7 separate regions of the Homo sapiens genome follow, and regions 1, 2, 3, 4, 6 and 7 are each linked to region 5. The links are contacts of gene promoters, found by promoter capture Hi-C in blood cells and fetal thymus (Javierre and others, 2016). All regions are on one chromosome and are shown on one strand. The core of a region is centred on a gene start or on the middle of the fragment in contact, and the rest is flanking DNA. Distances in the headings are between cores, read along the strand shown.

The links. The method cuts DNA at HindIII sites, captures the fragments that hold promoters and counts their contacts. A CHiCAGO score of 5 or more calls a contact.
Region 1: a contact is called between the fragment with the promoter of ZFP28 here and the fragment with the promoter of ZNF227 in region 5, in 2 of 17 cell types (naive CD4 T cells and total CD4 T cells). The highest score is 8.1, in naive CD4 T cells.
Region 2: a contact is called between a fragment that was not itself captured here and the fragment with the promoter of ZNF227 in region 5, in 1 of 17 cell types (naive CD8 T cells). The highest score is 8.2, in naive CD8 T cells.
Region 3: a contact is called between a fragment that was not itself captured here and the fragment with the promoter of ZNF227 in region 5, in 1 of 17 cell types (total CD4 T cells). The highest score is 5.0, in total CD4 T cells.
Region 4: a contact is called between a fragment that was not itself captured here and the fragment with the promoter of ZNF227 in region 5, in 1 of 17 cell types (total CD4 T cells). The highest score is 7.6, in total CD4 T cells.
Region 6: a fragment that was not itself captured here is called in contact with the fragment with the promoter of ZNF227 in region 5 in 1 of 17 cell types (total CD4 T cells); the score reaches 7.6 in total CD4 T cells.
Region 7: the fragment with the promoter of AURKC here is called in contact with the fragment with the promoter of ZNF227 in region 5 in 5 of 17 cell types (total CD4 T cells, naive CD8 T cells, non-activated CD4 T cells and 2 more); the score reaches 20.4 in total CD4 T cells.

The regions. Positions count from the first base shown.
Region 1 is chr19:56,537,695-56,540,519 of GRCh38, forward strand. It overlaps ZFP28 (ZFP28 zinc finger protein), which reads left to right and starts at 1,254. Exons shown (of 8, transcript NM_020828.2): 1 at 1,254-1,532; 2 at 1,931-2,022. The coding sequence starts at 1,325. It overlaps ZFP28-DT (ZFP28 divergent transcript), which reads right to left and starts at 1,040. Exons shown (of 3, transcript NR_183967.1): 1 at 731-1,040; 2 at 1-43. The HindIII fragment of the contact is 11,931 bases long and covers 1-2,825 here.
Region 2 is chr19:56,600,460-56,603,159 of GRCh38, forward strand. It overlaps ZNF71 (zinc finger protein 71), which reads left to right. Exons shown (of 4, transcript NM_001370215.1): 2 at 1,048-1,132. The coding sequence starts at 1,100. ZNF71-SMIM17 (ZNF71-SMIM17 readthrough (NMD candidate)) reads left to right here. Exons shown (of 5, transcript NR_163263.1): 2 at 1,048-1,132. Among named protein-coding and RNA genes, the nearest start is that of ZNF71-SMIM17, 6.5 kb to the left of the region's middle. The HindIII fragment of the contact is 197 bases long and covers 1,320-1,516 here.
Region 3 is chr19:56,557,548-56,560,332 of GRCh38, forward strand. The region is part of intron 1 of ZNF470-DT (ZNF470 divergent transcript); the gene reads right to left. Among named protein-coding and RNA genes, the nearest start is that of ZNF470, 8.5 kb to the right of the region's middle. The HindIII fragment of the contact is 8,891 bases long and covers 1-2,785 here.
Region 4 is chr19:57,185,676-57,188,425 of GRCh38, forward strand. No RefSeq gene overlaps it. Among named protein-coding and RNA genes, the nearest start is that of ZNF264, 4.4 kb to the right of the region's middle. The HindIII fragment of the contact is 5,081 bases long and covers 1-2,750 here.
Region 5 is chr19:44,211,254-44,214,300 of GRCh38, forward strand. ZNF227 (zinc finger protein 227) reads left to right here and starts at 1,279. Exons shown (of 6, transcript NM_182490.3): 1 at 1,279-1,332; 2 at 1,837-1,991. The HindIII fragment of the contact is 5,683 bases long and covers 355-3,047 here.
Region 6 is chr19:57,251,475-57,254,174 of GRCh38, forward strand. ZNF805 (zinc finger protein 805) reads left to right here. Exons shown (of 4, transcript NM_001023563.4): 4 at 1,599-2,700. Among named protein-coding and RNA genes, the nearest start is that of ZNF805, 12 kb to the left of the region's middle. The HindIII fragment of the contact is 778 bases long and covers 1,013-1,790 here.
Region 7 is chr19:57,229,336-57,232,346 of GRCh38, forward strand. It overlaps AURKC (aurora kinase C), which reads left to right and starts at 1,688. Exons shown (of 7, transcript NM_001015878.2): 1 at 1,688-1,971; 2 at 2,407-2,452; 3 at 2,698-2,889. The coding sequence starts at 1,914. The HindIII fragment of the contact is 17,293 bases long and covers 1-3,011 here.

The DNA of each region.
Region 1 (2,825 bases), core at 4-2,503, about 12 Mb after region 5:
AGAGATAGAAGTCATCTTAATTCCATCACTGAGGCCAGGAGACCTGAAAGAAATCAATTCAAGAGTAAGGAGACCAGGCGTGCAGTGTGACTGGGCGTGCAGAGGTCAGTGCATCTGTGATGACTGGTGTAACAGCATCACTGCCTGTGAGCCAGCAAGGCCCTTGGCTCCCAGGATGAAGCTCTCCAGTTCTGATAAGGCCCCTGGGGGAGAGACCGGTCCTAAACATGTTCAAGAATAAATCCATCAGCTAACTTCAGACCGTGATTCACACAGGAAGGGAACTTTAAGAGGTCGCCAGGGCTGGTATTTTTGAGACGTTAGGCAGCCCTCTCTGAGGCGATGACAAGTGAATGGCATAAAGGAGCCAGCCCAGACGAAAATTTGGGGTTAGACTATTTCGACCCAGGACGTGCAAATACATAGGTTACAAAATGGAAAATGGTATTTTGGAGGATGGGAGGCCCGTGTAGCCAGAGATAATGGGAGAAGGTGAGGGGGCACCCAAAACAATCCCACAAGCTCTCTACATCCCCCTTCCTAGCCCACACACATCACCCATCAGAGTGATCCTCCGGACTCCGGAGGCCCCCAAGATTGCCTTTCCCTTCCCGGTCGGCAGTGACGCTCCCGCAAGGAGCTGACGCCCAGGCCCTTAGCACCTGTCACAGCCAAGCACCCTTTTACTCCGGCCCTGCGGTCCCACCCCTCGCCGCAAGCCCCGCCTCACCCGGTCTGCCGCTGCGCCTGCGCGACTCCCAGAAGCCTTTGGGGGGTGGGTGTGTAGTCAGAGCGGCCTCTGCTTCCGGCCACACCCAGGCCCAGCGTTGGCCACCACTTATGCGGCGGCTGCGGTCCAGGGACAAGTGAGAGCGACCCGCAGAGGGCAGGACGGACGGGCGTTGCATAGGCCCGGGGCCAAACCGTATCTTGCAACCTGAGCTCCGAGGGCCGCCGCATCCGTCCCTGCTTGGGACTACGCTTCCCAGCGGGCATTGCGCCGAGGCCACGCCCGGTTCCGGCGGCGCTGCCTGCGCACTGGAAGTGGGAAGCGCCGGGCTTCTCTAGGCTGAGGGGCGGGGCGGGGCGGGGCGGGGCGGGGCGGGGCGGGGCGGGGCGGGGCGGGGCGGGGCGGGGCAGCGGGGAGGGGTGGGGAGGGGCGGGGCGCGGCCGGGGGCGGGGCGGCTCCGCGGCGCGGCCCAGTGGATGCCGGGCCATGGGGGAGCGCGCGCGGGGCTGTTCGCTGGGCGTGGCGGGCGGGTGTGGCCAGGGGTGTGGGTCTGTGAGGGACCGGTCGGAAGGGCGTCGCGCGGCCTCGGGTGACATGCGGGGGGCGGCGAGCGCGAGTGTCCGCGAGCCGACGCCGCTCCCGGGTAGAGGCGCCCCCCGCACAAAGCCCCGGGCGGGCCGAGGCCCGACTGTAGGGACTCCAGCCACCTTGGCCCTCCCTGCCCGGGGAAGGCCGCGCTCAAGGAATGGCCTCGCATCCAAAGGCCAGCGAGGAGCGGCCCCTACGGGGCCTGGGCACAGAGGTGAGAGTGACAGGTGTTTGGGGCCGAGCGGACAGGGACGAATTCATCTCGGGATGAGATCTGGGAGGGGGTTGGGCTCTCGGGGACCAGTTGCTGGAGAACTGTGCCCCTGGTCTTTGAAGCTGGTGGAGTGGGAGAATCTGAAGATTTGGAAGCTCAACTGATTCAGAGCAGCAAGCCGCGGTAAAAGGGTGTTGACTTTCCCAGGGTGACTCTAACTAGACGCTTTTCCTGTTTTCGTGCTCCCAGGGAGGAAAAAAACCTATCTCCACGTTGTGGCAGTCCCTAGGCAGGGTAATGATCTGATCCCACCTTTTCATGCAGGAAGGGACGTTTCTAGGCTGGTGATTTGGGACTGTGGTGTAGACCTGGTCTCTAGCTACTCCTTTCTCTTTCAGCTCTGCCTTCCAGGGACACTGCTCTTCCCCAGGAGAGAAACAAGAAGCTGGAGGCTGTGGGGACAGGAATTGAACCTAAAGCCATGTCCCAGGTGAGTTGGCATTTCATCTCTTGTCTCTGAAATGCAGTCTTGCTTTTCGGGACTTAATGTTGCTTATTTTCTTGAAAGTTTTCAGTTTAAGAGACCTGTTTGGGCGCGGGTTTCTATTTCTTCACGTTCTAGTGAAGTGATGGGCTACGGGGAAAAGTTTAAACTGCCCGGGGCCTCGATGCCTGCTTCTTCTTCATCCCAATCAGCCTTCATTCTTGATTGATGAAATGATTCAGCCTCTCCCTTGTACCGCTTTTCTCAGAGGGACTCTGATGGAGGAATTGTGCCCCTTGAGGAACACGGCAGACTCTTCTGCTATACATGGTTTGTTTGGTGACCACTTTGTGCCAGCCACTGAGCAAACCAATAGCTAAGCCCTAGTCCCTGCTCTGGAGCTCACAGCCTGTTGACCCAATGTCAAGGAAACAAGCAAGATTCTAGAATGTGATCATCCTTGGGCCAAGTATTATGAGCGAGGACTACAAGGCGCTCCTGGCTTCCAGCCTCCTGTAGCGGAAGGGTAGGCCTATTTACCAAGGAGGTGATTTTTGAGCCTTGCCTTGAAGGGAGAGAAGATGTTTGGGAGGCACAGTAAAGAAAGACAACATTTTAGGGAGAGGAGGCGCAATATGAAAGGCTTTTCCACTTGATTTTGTGGCTTTAAAACATGCCAGTAAATAGTTGTGTTTGTTTCGGTTGGCTTCTCCTATAAATATCATAGCTAGCTCATTAATAGATGAACCATTTCACTTCCACTGAGGCCTCAAAAAATATATGTACAGATGAACCAGCTTCCAGTTGTC
Region 2 (2,700 bases), core at 168-2,667, about 12 Mb after region 5:
GTGCTGGGATTACAGGCGTGAGCCACCGCGCCCGGCCCTCTGTATTTTTTTAATACCAATTAGCCATCCCCACATTCCCCCCACCCTTCCACTACCCTTCCCAGCCTCAGGTTTCTTCATCATTCTAGTCTCTATCTCCATGAGTTTGTTTTAATTTTTAGCTCACACAAGTGAGAACTTGCAAAGTTTGTCTTTCTATGCCTGGCTTATTTCACTTAACATAATGACCTCCAGTTTTATCCATGTTGTTGCAAATCACAGGATCTTATTCTCCTGCTTTTCTTTTGTTTCAAGGGGCGAGTGATGGGTTGCAGGGATGTTAAGATATCTCTCCACTTGAGACTTTATCCTGAGCTTGTCAGGAGAACTGGAGGAGAATTGAATCAAGATGCATTTCTCTAGGCGAATCTGGCTCTGAGAGCCCCTGGGTGGAAGTTCCTTACACTCATATCTGCTAGTTGAACCTCATGGTAACCCCATGAAGTCTGGGGGAAGTGCCCAAAGAGGCCACAGGTGGTTCTGGGGCATCTCAGGGGGCCTCAGTCCAGCACTCACACTCAAGGAGGGATCCGGGCAGGGCCATTGGGAGAAGGCAGGGTGTCCGGTGGCCCTCAGCAGCCTGCGGGAATGTGTGTGAGTGTATGTGTGTTAACCATATCTATAGGAGTGTACATGGGAGTGCATCTGTGAGGCATTGTAGCCTGGAGGCTAAGCTGTGGACCCAGACATACTCTGCCTGACTCCAGTCCCAGCTCTGTAATCTTGAGCAAGTGGTTTAATCTCCTCGGGCCTCAGCCTCCTCATCTGTGAAATGGGTAGGTAGAAGTAGTACCTACCTTCCAGGATGGTTGGAAGATCAAGTGATATACATTCAAGTTCCCTACATGCAGTAAGCCCTCTAAATACTCACTGTTGATGTATGTGTATGTGTGTCTATCTGTCTGTCTCTGCTTGTCTCTCAGTGGGTGTGTGTCTGTCCTGTCTACATTTGTGAGGCCAGCCTAGGCCTGGTCTCTCAGCATGCCTCCCTCTTTCTTCTCCCTACAGCACTGTTGGTCACCGCAGGCCTGTCTTCCTATTCACCGTGGGCAGCAGAGGGATGGCTGCTCAGCTGCTGACTGATGAGGCACTGGTGAGTCATGTTGCCCTGTCACTCTCCTTTCCAAAGGCTGGATCCTGCCTTGGGTGAGCCTCTGCTGCTCGAACCCTCTCCAAGGCCCCCAGTCCCATCTTCTGGGGCTGTGTCTGCCCTGATGAAGAGGGCTGTGCTTATAGATGATGCTGACCCTGGCTGTGGGGTCAGTTGTAGGGGACAGGGAAGCTTTGGAATGGCCAAACTAGCTCTCTGGACTCTTAGGAGACACAGGTGGGCACCTGTGGGAAGTGGTGGTTTAGACATGTGACATTGAGTGAAAACTTGCGCAGGACCATGCTGGATGTGTGACCTTTAAAATGGGCAAACACACTAAATGCTTCTTGTGAATGTGAATGCCCACATGTGTGATGAAAGTACAAAAGCTTATGGGAATGAGGCCCACAAATTCACCCATGATTTTACCCCAAAAGATAATCACTCTGGAATGTTTGAGTCTGGCTAAGCAATTTTAATGTTAAAGATTGCTTTTTCATCAGAGATTTCATCCTGAGCATTTCTCCACATCATTAAAAACTCCTTTGTAACGTCCATCTTAATGACCCCATAAAAGTGTTGTTCAGTGGCCATACCCTGGTTTACTTAATGGTTCCTCTGTTGTTGGACCTTTATTGGTTTCCAAGTATTCTTTTTTTGGTTATAAACAGTGTCATGAGGGACACTGGGCACAAATCTTTCTTTGTGTCTTATATGATTTCTTTAGGAGTGATTCCTTGAAGAGGAAGATTGGGTTGGGTATTTTTGAGGTATTTTGATATTATTTCCACATCAGTTACGGCGGTATGTATTCCCACCAGCATGTCTGAGCGGGTCTCTGATGATTTATATGGCTGTTGTCAGGCATTTATTCTGCATGTTGGATATATTTAGATTGGTGCAATATTGCACCATGATAATAAATGATAAATGGATATAAATGACAAATGCTATAAACCATGATGAGCCTGATAGGGGACAAATGGTGCCACGTGATTTATTTCTGAGTAGCATTGTTTGTATTATTAGTGAAGTTCAAGTCTTAGAAAATGTTTACTAGCCATTTCTGTGGGCAGGGAAATGATCCATCTTGTGCTTTAGCAGTCTACAGGAATCTGAGTATGCTTTAAAGACTTTACAGAAGCAAATGTGTGTGTGTAAATATTTGTGGCAAATATTCTTCCCAGATTTGCTTTTTGTTTCTTTATTTTACTTTATTTTTTCTGTATAAAAGCATTTCATATTTTTAAAATCAAATCTGTTGGTTTCTCCCACTGTGGTGTCTTTCTTCATCTTTAAGCTGTGAAAGGGTTTCTCCATCCACAGGTCACATAGCAGCTATATTTTCTTCCTTTTCACCATTTGTCATTTGAATGTTAACAATGAACTTTTGAATCTACCTGTAATTGATTTTGCTATATAAATGTGTCAGTAGACTTATTTGGGAGCTTTGGTTTATTCTGTCTTCATTTGTTTGGTACCTTTGTTGAGGTACACATCACGTATCACAAAGTGTACAATTCACTGATTTTGGGTACATTCATAGAGTCGCGTTAACCATCACCACAGTC
Region 3 (2,785 bases), core at 221-2,720, about 12 Mb after region 5:
TATGACTATCATATTTGACATATCTAATCATAAAATAACATGTTAGAGGCAAATGTAGAAAAAAGGAACGTATTATCAAGTAGGACATGGAGTCCTAGAAGCCATAAAGAAATCGAGAACAAGTTGGGCTATGCAACGATCTAAAACTTCAGCATGGTGAAAGGCACCAAAAACTTGTAAAAGACAGTTGAAGGGAAATGTATACAACTTATAGAAAATAACAGAATGCTGTTACATATACAGAGCAGTGGGGAACAACTTGCCATGCACACTGATAGGCGAATCACCCTGAAGAATCCAAATGGATAAAGAAAATTCGTGAAATTCTTAACCTCATTAATCAGAAGAATATGAATGAAACCACATTTTCCTGGCTCTTGGTAGATTACAATATAAAATTTGGATAATATCCAGTAATGGTATTAGTGTGGGAAAACAGGTACTTGATCACTATTAGCAGTGTAACTTCGTCCCCTATCTCCTCGGATGGCATGACCTATCAACATTATAAACGTGAATTTTTTTCAAACAGTAATTCCAGATCTAGGAATTTTATCCCATTGGAATAAATAGGTAGATATAAATATTGTTTTCTTGTAGAATTGTTTCAATTATGACAAATAAGAATTCAGCGCCCTGCCAAGTGGATTGACTAAATTGTAGTTATTCAGTACTGTGTTGTGCGATTAGTAGAAAGCAGTTAAGCTCTACATACACTTCTATGGAGTGGCGTCTACAACATATTTAATGAAATATGTGGTTTACAGAACCTTACAGGTAAAATGACCTAGTCATAGAGTCAAAATTAATACTGAATATATATGTGTGTATGTACATACAAACACATGCACAGCCTCAGTATCTATGTTGAAATCTGGTTTTGTCTTTAACACACAGACTTTTCCTAGCATTTTGCGGGCACTTTCCCTTTCTTCATTCTGTATTGTTCTGATGAACTGTCAGTGACACATGCTCCAAGTAAGACAACCAGATTCATTCTCTGTATTTTGATTAGAGACACAGGGACAGGAACAGGGCCAATATTCAGCTTTATGAACCAGTATGGCCAGAATGGATGTTTTGTTTTAGTCAATATTCATTTTGATTGGTGGGACCTTTATTATACCTGCTGTGAAGTATGTGGGATATGACTCCTAGGCTGGAATTCGTTTGAATTAAGTCATCCTTTGGCAGCAACCTAAGGATTCCTCCACCTGTCACTGAGATCCATTGAGATGATTCCTGCTTTCTCACATCTTGGTTTTGAGTTAAATTCTTTGAGTCTGTGAACTACCTGGTATTCTAATATTTCTCATTTTAAGTCAGAGTCAAATACTTTGGTTCTCAAGCAAAGAGAGCTAGCCAATGCAGAAATTTATACTACAGAATGATTACTAGACTGTAGAGAAGCAGAGTATTCAAGATGGATGTCCAGTGAGACAGATCAAAGCACAGATGAATTCCTAATCCTATTTTGTGCTGTGAAAGGATATTCATGATATAGCAGGATCCTAAGCCCATTGTGCACTAGGGTCTGGATAGCTCCTACCAAAAACAAAGGTATTGAGGAATACTACTTCCAAAAGTATATATGATACCTGTTTATAATGAAATTGGGTAATTAAAATTTCAAGGCTACTTGAAATTCTGGCCTTAAGGAATTGAATCAGTACCTGTATGTCTGTGTTGGGAAGAATCTCATACTCCTTTTAAGCATGGGGCTGTATTTGCTAAAAAAGGCAGCAGTAGATGCAGTTATTTGCTCAACAATGATGCTTACTGAATGAAGGGGTGGCCTGCCCCTCCACACCTGTGGGCGTTTTTCCTTGGGTGGGACGAGAGACTGAGAAAAGAAAGAGACACAGAGACAAAGTATAGAGAAAGAAAAGTGGGCCCAGGGGACCAGCACTCAGCATACGGAGGACCCACGCCTGCACCGGTCTCTGAGTTCCCTCAGTATTTATTGATCATTATCTCTACCATCTCAGAGAGGGGGATGTGGCAGGACAATAGGGTAATAGTGGGGAGAGGGTCAGCAGGAAAACGTGAACAAATGTCTCTGTGTCATAAACAAGGTTAGAAAATGTGCTGTGCTTTGATATGCACATACACAAACATATCTGGTGCATTAAACAGCAGTATTGCCGCCAGCATGTCTCACCCCCAGCCTTAAGGCGGTTTTCTCCTATCTCAGTAGATGGAACACACAATCGGGTTTTACACCAAGACATTCCATTCCCCAGGGACGAGCAGGAGACAGATGCCTTCCTCTTAACTACAAAGAGGCCTTCCTCTTTTAATAATCCTCCTCAGCACAGACCCTTTACCGGTGTCGGGCTCAGGGACGGTCAGGTCTTTCCCTTCCCACAAGGCCATATTTCAGACTATCACATGGGGAGAAACCTTGGACAATATCTGGCTTTCCTAGGCAGAGGTCCCTGCAGCCTTCTGCAGTGTTTTGTGTCCCTGGGTACTTGAGATTAGGGAGTGGTGATGACTTTTAACAAGCATGCTGCCTTCAAGCACTTGTTTAACAAAGCACATCCTGCATAGCCCTAAATCCATTAAACCTTGAGTCGACACAGCACGTGTTTCTGCCAGCACAGGGTTGGGGGTAGGGTTACAGATTAACAGCATCTCAAGGCAGAATTTTTCTTAGTACAGAACAAAATGGAGTCTCTTATGTCTACTTCTTTCTACATAGACACAGTAACAGTCTGACCTCTCTTTTCCCCACACTGAATTCACAACCGTGTCACTTCTGTTAAGCAATTAGGGAAATACT
Region 4 (2,750 bases), core at 97-2,596, about 13 Mb after region 5:
AGGGAGATGAGGGGCTGAGCCATGTGGAGATTGGGGTAGGAAGTGGATTTCCTGCCACAGGCTTTCAAGCAAGCATATAATATCCAGGGCTGGGTGCTGTGGCTCACGCCTGTAATCCCAGCACTTTGGGAAGCCAACGTGAGAAGATTGCTTGAGGCCAGGAATTCAAGACCAGCTTGGGCAACATATTAAGACCCCCATCTCTATTTTTTTTAATCTTTTTTTTTTTTCTTTTGAAACGGAGTCTCGCTCTGTCGCCAGGCTGGAGTGCAGTGGCCCGATCCCAGCTTACTTCAATCTCTGCCTCCTGGGTTCAAGCGATTCTCCTGCCTCAGCCTCCTGACTAGCTGGGATTACAGGTGTGTGCCACCACGCCTGGCTAATTTTGTATTTTTAGTAGAGACTTCCCCATGTTTGCCAGGATGGTCTCGAACTTCTCACCTCGAGTGATCCACCCACCTCAGCCTCCCAAAGTACTGGGATTACAGGTGTGAGCCACCACACCTGGCCAAAATAAGCCTTTTTTACTGTATTTATTTGAAGATTAAAGATGGTTTAAGGTGACAAGGGGTAGAGTATGATTGCCAACTATATGTGTAAACTTGTTTAGGCTGTACTACCCAGAAATTGTATTAAACACTGACCAGGGTATTGTTATGAAGGTATTTCATAGAAACGGTTAACATCTATAATCAGTTATTTTGATAATGTAGGTGGTTCTTATCTAATCAGTTGAAAGGCCTTAAGAGAAAAACAGGGTTCCCTGGGGAAGAAATTCTGCCTCAAGACTGCACCTTCAGCTCCTATCCACGTTTCAATTCTGCTGGCCTGAACTCTAGCCTACAGATTTGGGACTGGCCTGTCCCTGCAATCACATAGCCCATTTCTTCTTCTATCTTTTTTTAAAATTTTTATTGTAGGCAAGGTGGGTGGCTCACACCTGTAATCCCAGCACTTTGGGAGGCCAAGGTGGGCGGATTATGAGGTCAGGAGTTCAAGACCAGCCTGGCCAACACAGTGAAACCCCATCTCTACTAAAAGATATAAAAAATTAGCCAGGCACAGTGGCGGGCACCTGTAATCCTACCTACTCAGGAGGCTGAGGCAGGAGAATTGCTTGAACCCAGGAGATGGAGGTTGCAGTGAGCCAAGATTGCAACACTACACACCAGCCCGGGTGACAGTGCCGAGACTCTGTCTCAAAAAAAAAAATTATTGTGGAGGAATGGTCTCACTATGCTGCACAGGCTAGTCTCTTAACTCCCGGCCTCAAGAGCCGGGTCTGTCCTGTAGACCCTGGCTGAGCGATGGATGAAAGGAGTACTCAGACACAGGTATGTAGTGTAAGAGCAGCTAGGGGACTGCTGAAGAGTGAGCAGTCTTGATAAGCTGGGACTGCTTGCTTTTATTCAGTACAGACATAATGCCAAAAGCCTGGAGCCAACACAGTCTGTGGGTAATTAACATTATTGTTCCCCCTTTTGGGGGCAGCCTCACTCGTGAATGATCAAATGTTGGTTCCTAGTTAACATAAGTAAACAAGCCTGTTTATGTTAAATTCCCCTACACTTCCTTGTACCTACTCCTTGCCCTCTGCCTTAGGGTAAGAGAACAGCTGCTTTCAGCTTATTCTCCCGTGAAGCTATGCAGAGACTTCTGACCTTTCAGAAGGTTTGCGTCCTTTTCTTATAGCTTCTCCCACCACTCTGACCGATCTCCTACACTCAAGCAATCCTCCTTCCTCAGCCTCCCAAAGTGCTGGGATTACAGGCATGAGCCACCGCACACCACCCCCATTTCTTGCAGTAAAATATGTGTGTGTGTGTGCGCGTGTGCGCGCGTGTGTATTCCATTTCTCCCTAATACCATTTCTCAGCTGCATGAATCCTTAACTCATGAAAGATACTTTTTATCCTCTTGACTCTACAGTTAATGGAAAATAAAAATCATCAATAGTGACTTCTAAGATTGCTTAATATACCTTTCTGGGAGGACAGTTAGAACTCCTAATGTGAGCTTGTCAGTTTCTTGTGAAAACCAACCCAGTTGTCCCATAGAACTGATGTTTGTGGTTTCTTTTGACTGAACCTAGAAATTGACCCTCCCACTCTTAAAACTTGAGAAAAGTACATTTGTCATAATCGTTTGTCACAGAAATAACCAAATTTCCTTGTCCATTGTTTTTTAACTATGGTTGTCCTAAGACTTTTGTCATCCACAATTATTGTTTGACTTTGAGTCTTCTCCAAAGGTGGCTTACAGTCAGCTACAGTTCAGGGCTTCTTTGAGAGAGTTCATAAAAAGAACACTTGAATTCAAGTTTCTGGTAACTTTGGAGATTGTCCTATCAGCCTAGAGAGAAAACTTCCAGGACTCTAATTAGAAGGCTGATATATTCATAAAATACATAATTATGTATACATATGTTTATGCAATATGAAGCAGAGCAGGAGTTTCATGGACTGTACTAATTTATTTCATGATAAATAAAAATATTTTATTATATAGTATATTAAGCCATCTTAGAAGTCACTGTTGATGATTTTTTTTTCTCCATTAACTGTGGAGCCAAGAGGGTAAAAAGTATCTTTCATGAGTTAAGGATTCATGCAGTTGAGAAATGGAATTAGGGAGAAATGGAACACACACACACAAACACAGAGATTTATTTCAAGTACTGAATTTATTTTATTATTTTTTGTGTGTGTTTGAAACATTGCTGATTCTTTTTGTTTTGTTTTTGAGTCAGG
Region 5 (3,047 bases), core at 29-2,528:
AAAGTTGTGAAAATGTAGTGAGGGTCCCATAGTCTGAATAGTTTGAACTAGTTCCTGGCACATACTTGGTTCTTTATAAGAGATAGTTGTATATAACAGAATAAAGAATATATATTTAGTAAATGAGAACTGCAAACATGTACTGTAGTAGATATGTGGATATTTTTAGGTATTGCTCTCTTCTTTCAACCCTCAATTCTTGGAAACATCAATTCCATTATACATTTAAGCAAATAAAGATCAAGGTTTAAACACTGAAGTAATAAATTTGTTCATCTTTCAAATTCAGAAACTCCTTGAGGAATGATTACAGAGGCCCTAGTTGCTTTGTGGAGTTGATCTACCATATGCCAAAGCTTGTGTTTTCTATGTCTAGCTATCCTCAGTAAGCAAGTTGTTCTGAATTATATGACTGTGCTATTAAGAAAAGTGGAAATCCATAATATATTCTGCCTTCGTTGCATTTTTTGATTGCTCTTTCATTCTTTTAGTATCTAAAGAGTAGTTTTTCTATTAGTCGATCCTGTTAAATGTAAAAACTTAAAGGGTTTCCTCTGCCCTTTTTTTTTTTTTTTTTGGAAGTGGTGGGTATAATTCTATTAGTACAGGATCACGTGATCTGTTTCTTATAATAGTTTTTTTTTTCTTTTTTTTTTTTTTGAGACAGAGTCTCACTCTGTCGCCCAGGCTGGAGTGCAGTGGCACGATCTTGGCTCACTGCACCCTCCAGGGTTCAAGCGATTCTTATGCCTCAGCCTCCCAAGTAGCTGGGACTACAGGCGCGCGCCACCACGCCCGGCTAATTTTTATATTTTTAGTAGAGACGGGGCTTCATCATATTGGCCAAGCTGGTCTGGAACTCCTGACCTCGTGATCCGCCCGCCTCGGCCTCCCAAAGTGCTGGGAGTCTTTTTTTATTTTAGGGCTCCAATTCTTCACATATTTGCTGTTACTTTTTGTTAATAAGAAAAACCTAAATTCCACTGACATCAGAGAACTGCTTCAGCCTGGCTAAACAGCAATAAGCCGTGAAGAGGATTCTGGATGTTGTAGTCCGGGAGCTCCGAGAATTTTGTCACACTCTCCGTAACCCTCTCTCACTCGCTCGCTCCGTTTTTTTTTTTGTTTTTTTTTTTTTCAAGCGCGAAGAGGGCGGCACCTGGATGGTTTTTCCTTCTGGAAGTTCTGGGAAACGTATTCCAGAACTCTGTCCGGAAACAATTGGGCCGCAGGAGCGCGGGCCTTCTGGGAAGGGTAGTTCAGGAGCTCTGGGCAGGCAGAGCCACTTCCGCCCCGGAAAGCGAGGCCGCCACCATCTTTTGGGTCCGGGAGGTGAGTCAGCCCTGCACCCCCACGACCCCTCTTGAACCTTTTCAGCCTGTGCTTGGGAATAGGCGCTCCCCAGCCATCAGTCTTGGGATGGAGAGGTCGCGGCCGCGGCGGAGGCCGAGAGGCCGAGGGCGGGAAGTTTGCTCTCCTCCCGCACTTGGCAAGCAGCGCCGCTAGTTCTGTGGGTATAATAAACAGCGAGTTACCTATGATCCGCGCTCCTGTTTCCTCATCTTTAAAATAGCAATAAAGATAGTCGTTACTGTGTAGGGTTGTAATTAGAATTAAACAAGATAATACGGGTCAAACCTTAGAACAGTGGTGGCACCTGATACTGGGTTGGCTCCTGCTATTGATACAGTGATTCCCTCACAAGCGCCCTTTTTACTGGAAGCTCCAGTGAAGAGAGAAGAAAAGTCAGGGCTTTATGCCATGGCCTTTCTGTCGTATCCTTCAGGAGACCGAGCTCTTCCCGAACTTTTACAGATCTTTTTTTTTTTTAAGAAGGATTGAGTCATCGGGCTCCAATGCGTGGGGATGTTTACCGCCGTTTATCCGGGATAGAGACTCCATCGTGCTGACAGCATCCTTTTATTCACCGCCTCCGAATTTGCAAAGAGGAGGAAGGAGGGACTTCTTGGCTTCTCCCAGCATAGCCCCAGGTACCTGCTCTTGAACGCACTTTGTTGTTCCATTTTCTGTCCTTTCAGTTAATCAAGTTTCCGTCACTCAGTAAGTTACTACTGAAAAATGATGAAATATTTGTTGAATAAATGTGAGAGTGGGTAGGAAAACTACTTGGAAATGAGTATTACCAATAACATCTTACCACTTTGATTTTAAGGCATTCGTCTGTGGACCATAGCTATTGATGAAGTAGGTCTTGTTATTTTGTTATGAGGAAATTAGGCAGAGTTTATGTTATTAAATACTTTCCCGAAGTTATTCAACTGATAGTAAGAGGTGGATTTGGGATTGAACCCAAGCATTCCTTTTCAGACTGTGTGATCTTTTTTGTTTGTTTTTGTTTCTTTGGTTTTTGTTGTTGTTTATTTTCTATTCCTTTTTCTGAGTCTGTGGTCTTAATCTCAATGATACAGTCGTCTTCAGTTATCTTAAATAGTAATCCATATGGCTACCGGTGAGTCGTTGGAAATCAGCCTTGGGAATGTAGGTATGGATTTTACTGTGGAAGACCTCAAAAACTGCACTGATGAATTTTGAATTTTTTAGAAAAATCCTGCAACATCTCACTTACTTAATTTCATTCCATGTCAAAATATGTCATATTCTAGTTATAGAAGTAATGAATGCTCATTATAGAGATGCACTATCCAATCCAGTAGCTATAAGCCATGTGTGCCCTAGGAGCACTTGAAATGTGTCTAGTCCAAATTGAGATGTGCTGTAAGTGTTAAATACACACTGGATTTCAAAAACTTTGTACAAAAAATGTAAGATGGCTCATTGATAATTTTTTGTATTATATGTCAAAATGGTAATATTTTGGATACATTGGCTTAAATTATGTTGTTGAAATTAACTTCACCTATTTTTGTTTTTGTTTTTTTGCCTTTTTTATATGTTACTGCTAGAAAATTTAAAATTATTTATGTGTCTCAGTATATTTCTATTGGACAGTGATGTTATATTCAGAAAACTTAAATTACTTATAATAAAACTGCTAACACTTTAATGTGTTTCCCTTTAGTATATGC
Region 6 (2,700 bases), core at 152-2,651, about 13 Mb after region 5:
CTTTCTCTTTTTGATTTTATTTTTGTACATTATAGATACCTATCTTTTATCAGTTACATTTGCTGCCGGTATATTCTTCTAGTTTTTAATTTTGTCCTTCCACTCTTTTTAAAGTATCTTTTGTTCAATGAGTTCCTTACATAGCGTAGTCTGATTTATGTTTTTTTTTTACGTGATTAATGATTTTGTACCTTGTGGAAAAAATGTTGCTTTACCCTAATGTCAAAAAGGTATTCTTGTTTATTTTATTGTAAGTTGTAAAACTTGCCATTTGGCATTCAAGTCTTTATCAATCTGAAGTTGATTTTGAGTATAGAATGTGATAGAATACAATATTTCCATTCCCCGTGTTGGTAGCCAATTTTTCTAGCTCTAATTCCTTAGTAGTCTCTCATCACTGAGGTGCTGTGCCTCTTTGCCATCTACCAAAGCCCCATCTATGTGCAAGGGGATTTCTGAGCTCTCTGTTCTTCTTTATTCCCAGTTTGCATTATGTCTGTGCCAGAGTGGTACCTCTGCCTTATGAGCTCTGTCCTGAGAGTGGCACTGCTCTTCACAGCTGTCACCTAGGTCAGAATCTTGGGAATCAGTCCCCCTGTGCCTCATCTTTCCCTAGATTCTCATCACCACCACCCTCTCATGCACTGTAGCTCATTTGCATATTCTTTCTCCTAAGGCTATAGTGTCTTTCTCACATTCTCTCGTGACAAGTGGGACTTACTTCACTGGGTACCTTCTATTGGAAAACTGCCTTGATCTTTTTCTACCCAGGATTAGCCAAACTCAAGATAAGGACACAGTCCTCCAGGACTTTGTCAAGTCTACCCAAATCCTCTTAATTCCAACTGCAAATTCAGGGATTTCCTGAAACCAACCTTAGGTTTCATAACTTGCTAAAAAGACTCACAACACTTTCTAAAACCTATTATACTCACAGTTTTGTTTATTACAGACAAAGCATACAAATTAGAAGAGGACACGGGATGTGGGGCTGAAGGGGTTCCAAACACAAAGCTTCCTCAGTAACTTGTTACCCACCCAGCATTGAGTGTAAAATATGTGCACAGAGCATTGCAAACCCAGGAAACTCACTGGAGCTCTGGTTTTTAGAGTTTGTTGAGCTTCATTACACAAGCACGGTTAATCGAGACATTGCCCACATTGCCATGTGAAGTTTCCAGCCTTCGTCCCTTTTCCAGAGTTCAGCTGATATCTTGTGGCTCAGAGACCTAACCTTCTACTCACTGGTTGGTCTTTCTGGTGCCACCAGACCTCAGCCAGAGTCATCTATTTAGGATAAACTATTTAGGTACCTATAATGAGTTACCTTTATATAAATATTTAGTCTGGAATTGAAGCGATATCTCCACTCTAGGCCCTGTCCCCTCACCTGGTCTCTCTGCCTGGTCTCCCTTTCAAGGAGTCAGGAATCCAAGGAAAATAAAAGAAACAAATTATAGATCTGGGGTTCAAGATGGCAAAATATAACAGACATAAAGGCACCATTTATAACTTCATTTTTTTTACTGAAGTGGTGAGTTTGTTTCTTCTCTTTTTACATTACTAACAAGCCCTTCTGTGTGTTGGATTTCTTTCAGGTGACAAAGGAAAACCCAAGAGCACAGAACCTACCACCTGTGAGCTAGCCTTGTCTGAAGGAATCTCTTTTTGGGGACAACTAACACAAGGAGCTTCAGGGGACTCCCAGTTGGGGCAACCCAAGGATCAGGATGGGTTTTCAGAAATGCAGGGAGAACGCTTGAGACCAGGGTTAGATTCCCAAAAGGAGAAGCTTCCTGGAAAAATGAGCCCCAAACATGATGGTTTAGGGACAGCTGATAGTGTGTGTTCAAGGATTATACAGGATCGAGTCTCCTTAGGAGATGATGTCCATGACTGTGACTCACATGGATCAGGTAAAAATCCAGTTATTCAGGAAGAGGAAAATATCTTTAAATGCAATGAATGTGAAAAAGTGTTTAACAAGAAACGCCTGCTTGCTCGGCATGAGAGGATTCACTCTGGAGTGAAGCCCTATGAATGCACAGAGTGTGGAAAAACCTTTAGCAAGAGTACATACCTCCTGCAGCACCACATGGTCCACACTGGGGAGAAGCCCTATAAGTGCATGGAGTGTGGGAAGGCTTTTAATCGGAAGTCACACCTTACCCAGCACCAGCGGATTCACAGTGGAGAGAAGCCTTATAAGTGCAGTGAATGTGGAAAGGCCTTCACCCACCGCTCCACTTTTGTCTTGCATAACAGGAGCCACACTGGAGAAAAACCCTTTGTGTGCAAAGAGTGTGGCAAAGCCTTTCGAGATAGGCCAGGTTTCATTCGACACTACATCATCCACAGTGGTGAGAATCCCTACGAGTGCTTCGAATGTGGCAAGGTCTTCAAACACAGATCATACCTCATGTGGCACCAGCAGACTCATACCGGGGAGAAGCCCTATGAGTGCAGTGAATGTGGGAAGGCCTTCTGTGAGAGCGCAGCGCTGATTCACCACTATGTCATCCACACTGGAGAGAAGCCCTTTGAGTGCCTCGAGTGTGGGAAGGCTTTCAACCACCGATCCTACCTCAAAAGGCACCAGCGGATTCACACTGGGGAGAAGCCATATGTGTGTAGTGAATGCGGAAAGGCCTTCACCCACTGCTCTACTTTCATCTTGCATAAAAGGGCCCACACTGGAGA
Region 7 (3,011 bases), core at 438-2,937, about 13 Mb after region 5:
CAGTGCCTGTTGCAAGATAGGCACTCAATCGATACTCATTAAATTAACAATATACACATATATAAAACAGCACTTTCACATGGTTATGAGTGACCTAAGGAAAAACAGAACAGGATGACGTTGTAGTGGGGGCTGTTTTAAATTGACAGTTTGGAGCTGGGCGCAGTGGCTCACACCTGTGATCCCAGTATTTTGGGAAGCCGAGGCGAGTGGATCACCTGAGGTCAGGAGTTCGAGACCAGCCTGGCCAACATGGTGAAACCCTGTCTCTACTAAAAATACAAAAATTAGCCGGGCATGGTGGCAGGTGCCTGTAATCCCAGCTACTCAGGAGGCTGAGGCAGGAGAAATGTTTGAACCTAGGAGGCGGAGGTTGCATGAGCTGAGTTCGAGCCACTGCACTCCAGCCTGGGTGACAGAGCAAGACTCCGTCTCAATAAACAAACAAACAGACAGGTTTGGGAAAGCCTCTGAGAAAGGAATGGTTGGCCTGAGCTAAGCGCCATTACCCTGATCCACCTATTGTAACCACCTAATGGGTTCATTATTTTCCCTGCTCCCCAGATAGAGTCGACTTATCAAGACAGGATAATTGCAATAAAGGGTTTAATTCACATCAATCGAGCTAAATGAGAGACCAGAGTTTTATTACTCAAATAGGTCTCCCCAAATATTTTGAGACGAGCTTTTTTGTTTTTGGGTTTTTTTGTTTTTGTTTTTGTTTTTTTTGAGACAGAGTCTCGTTCTCCTTCTGTCGCCCAGGCTGGAGTGCAGTGGCATGATCTTGGCTCACTGCAACCTCCGCCTCCAGGGTTCAAGCGATTCTCTTGCCTCAGCCTTTTGAGTAGGTGGGATTACAGGCATGCGCCACCACACCCGGCTAATTTTTGTAGTAGAAACGGGGTTTCGCCCTGTTGGCCAGGCTGGTCTCGAACTGCCTACCTCAGGTGATCCGCCCGCCTCGGCCTCCCAAAGTGCTGGGATTACAGGCATGAGCCATCACGCCAGGCCTTCAATTATATTTCTGCAAGATATGTTCCCTGTCTAAAAGAATTCAATTTTTAATGTTTTTGAAACTTATGTGTTTGCTAAACAAATACGTGGGGGCTGATTTTACGATCTGAGGCCAAATCCACAAACTGATTACAGGGTCCAACAAATATTTGGCGAGTGGGAGGAGAGGGGTAAGTGAGCTGGACTGGTGGCGTCCTGGCTGTGAGCAGGCACAGCCGCAGGCTTCAGGGAGCCCCATCGCGGTGACCCTGGAGAGTGGCCTGAATCGGACGTGACCTTGAAGCAAGGTGGTTTTGGGGTCGCCGGCTGCACAAGGCGCGAAGTGGTTTAGGGTCACGGGCTGCACGAGGCTCCAGCACGTCAGGAGTGGGCGTCTGTTCATTCCCACGTGCATCGCGGCTCTCTCCTAGTTGACGCATGCACACCCCGTGGGTGTATGCGTTGTTCATTCCCACAACGGCCATCACCACCTCTCCGCACCCTCTGTCTCCTTCCTTCTCGGGCCTCACCCCTGGCCCTCGCTTTCAGTGCCCAGCCCGGACCGCAGCACTCCAGTTCCGCCCCAACCCGGGAACCCTGGACTGAGGCTCCCGTTTCTGTCCTTTCTATTGGGCGCACTTCCGATGGCGTCAGGAATTTCAGCCAATAGGAGCCAGCCAGGAAGTACCTCTCTGAGCGGTTGGTGCCGGGTATAAAAGAAGGCCGCGCAGCCACGGCTGCTCACGACGCCGCGGATCCCGAAGCCTGTGTAGCAGTGAGACATCAGTGAGGCTGCAGGACGAGCAGGATTGGAAGCGCCCCGGCCAGAAAGTGACCCCCCACCCCTTTCAGGACCCTGTGAACGGGAACAGCCATCCAGAGGGTTCAGGAAGGCGTCCGCGCCCTCACCTCTTCTCCCCATGAGCTCCCCCAGAGCTGTGGTGCAGCTGGGCAAAGCTCAACCTGCAGGCGAAGAGTGTGAGAGCCAGCGCCAGAGAAAGGACGCAGGGAAGGCTGGGGACTGGGCCAGGGGTCGGGTGCACAGAAGACACATGTGTTGACATCTCCCCTCCCTCTCCTCCTCCCCAACGCTCTTCTTTTCTCCCCACTCCCTCCCTTCCCTCCAATTCTTTCTTTCACCTCTCCCTCCCCTACTCTCTCCTCCCCTTCCTTTCTCTCTGCCTCTTCTTCACCTCCTCCTCCCCTCCCTACCTTACCTTACTCTTTCTTCTTCCCCTTACCTCTCCCTCCCCCTCTCCCTGCCTTCCCCTTCCCTCTCTTTCTCTCCTCCCCTTCTTCCCCTCACCTCTCGCTCCCTATTCCCTTCTCTACTGTTCTCCTCTCCTCTCTTTCTCTCCCCTTCTCCTTCCCTCCCCTCTCCCTTCCTATCTCCCTCCTCCTCCTCTCTTTCAGTGGCTACAGCAAACCAAACAGCCCAGCAGCCCAGCAGCCCAGCCATGTGAGTCCCTTGGGATTGGTATCTGGAAAAGGAAGGAAGGTGGGACGTGGGGATGAAGAACAGACTGGGTGTGTGGGGTGCTGGCTCCTGGGAACGAGAACTACTGATAGGGCTGGGTCTGTGTGAGAAGGGAAAGCGGCAGAGGAAGGATACAATGAAAGAGGAAGGGGAGCATTGGCATCCCTGACTTTCCCTCCGCCTACCCTACCTCCCAAGCTGAGGCTTTTTTCTTCCTCTCCTGTCAGGCGGCGCCTCACAGTCGATGACTTTGAAATCGGGCGTCCCCTGGGCAAGGGGAAATTTGGGAATGTGTACCTGGCTCGGCTCAAGGAAAGCCATTTCATTGTGGCCCTGAAGGTTCTCTTCAAGTCGCAGATAGAGAAGGAAGGACTGGAGCACCAGCTGCGCCGGGAAATTGAGATCCAGGCTCATCTACAGTAAGGACAGTCTCTGCTTCCTCTTTCATCTTTGACGTCTGAGCCCAGCATTTTCCCCAAATACTAACCCCAAGTAAACCCTGCACTTGTACCTTGAAGACTTCTCTGCAGTTCATTCCATT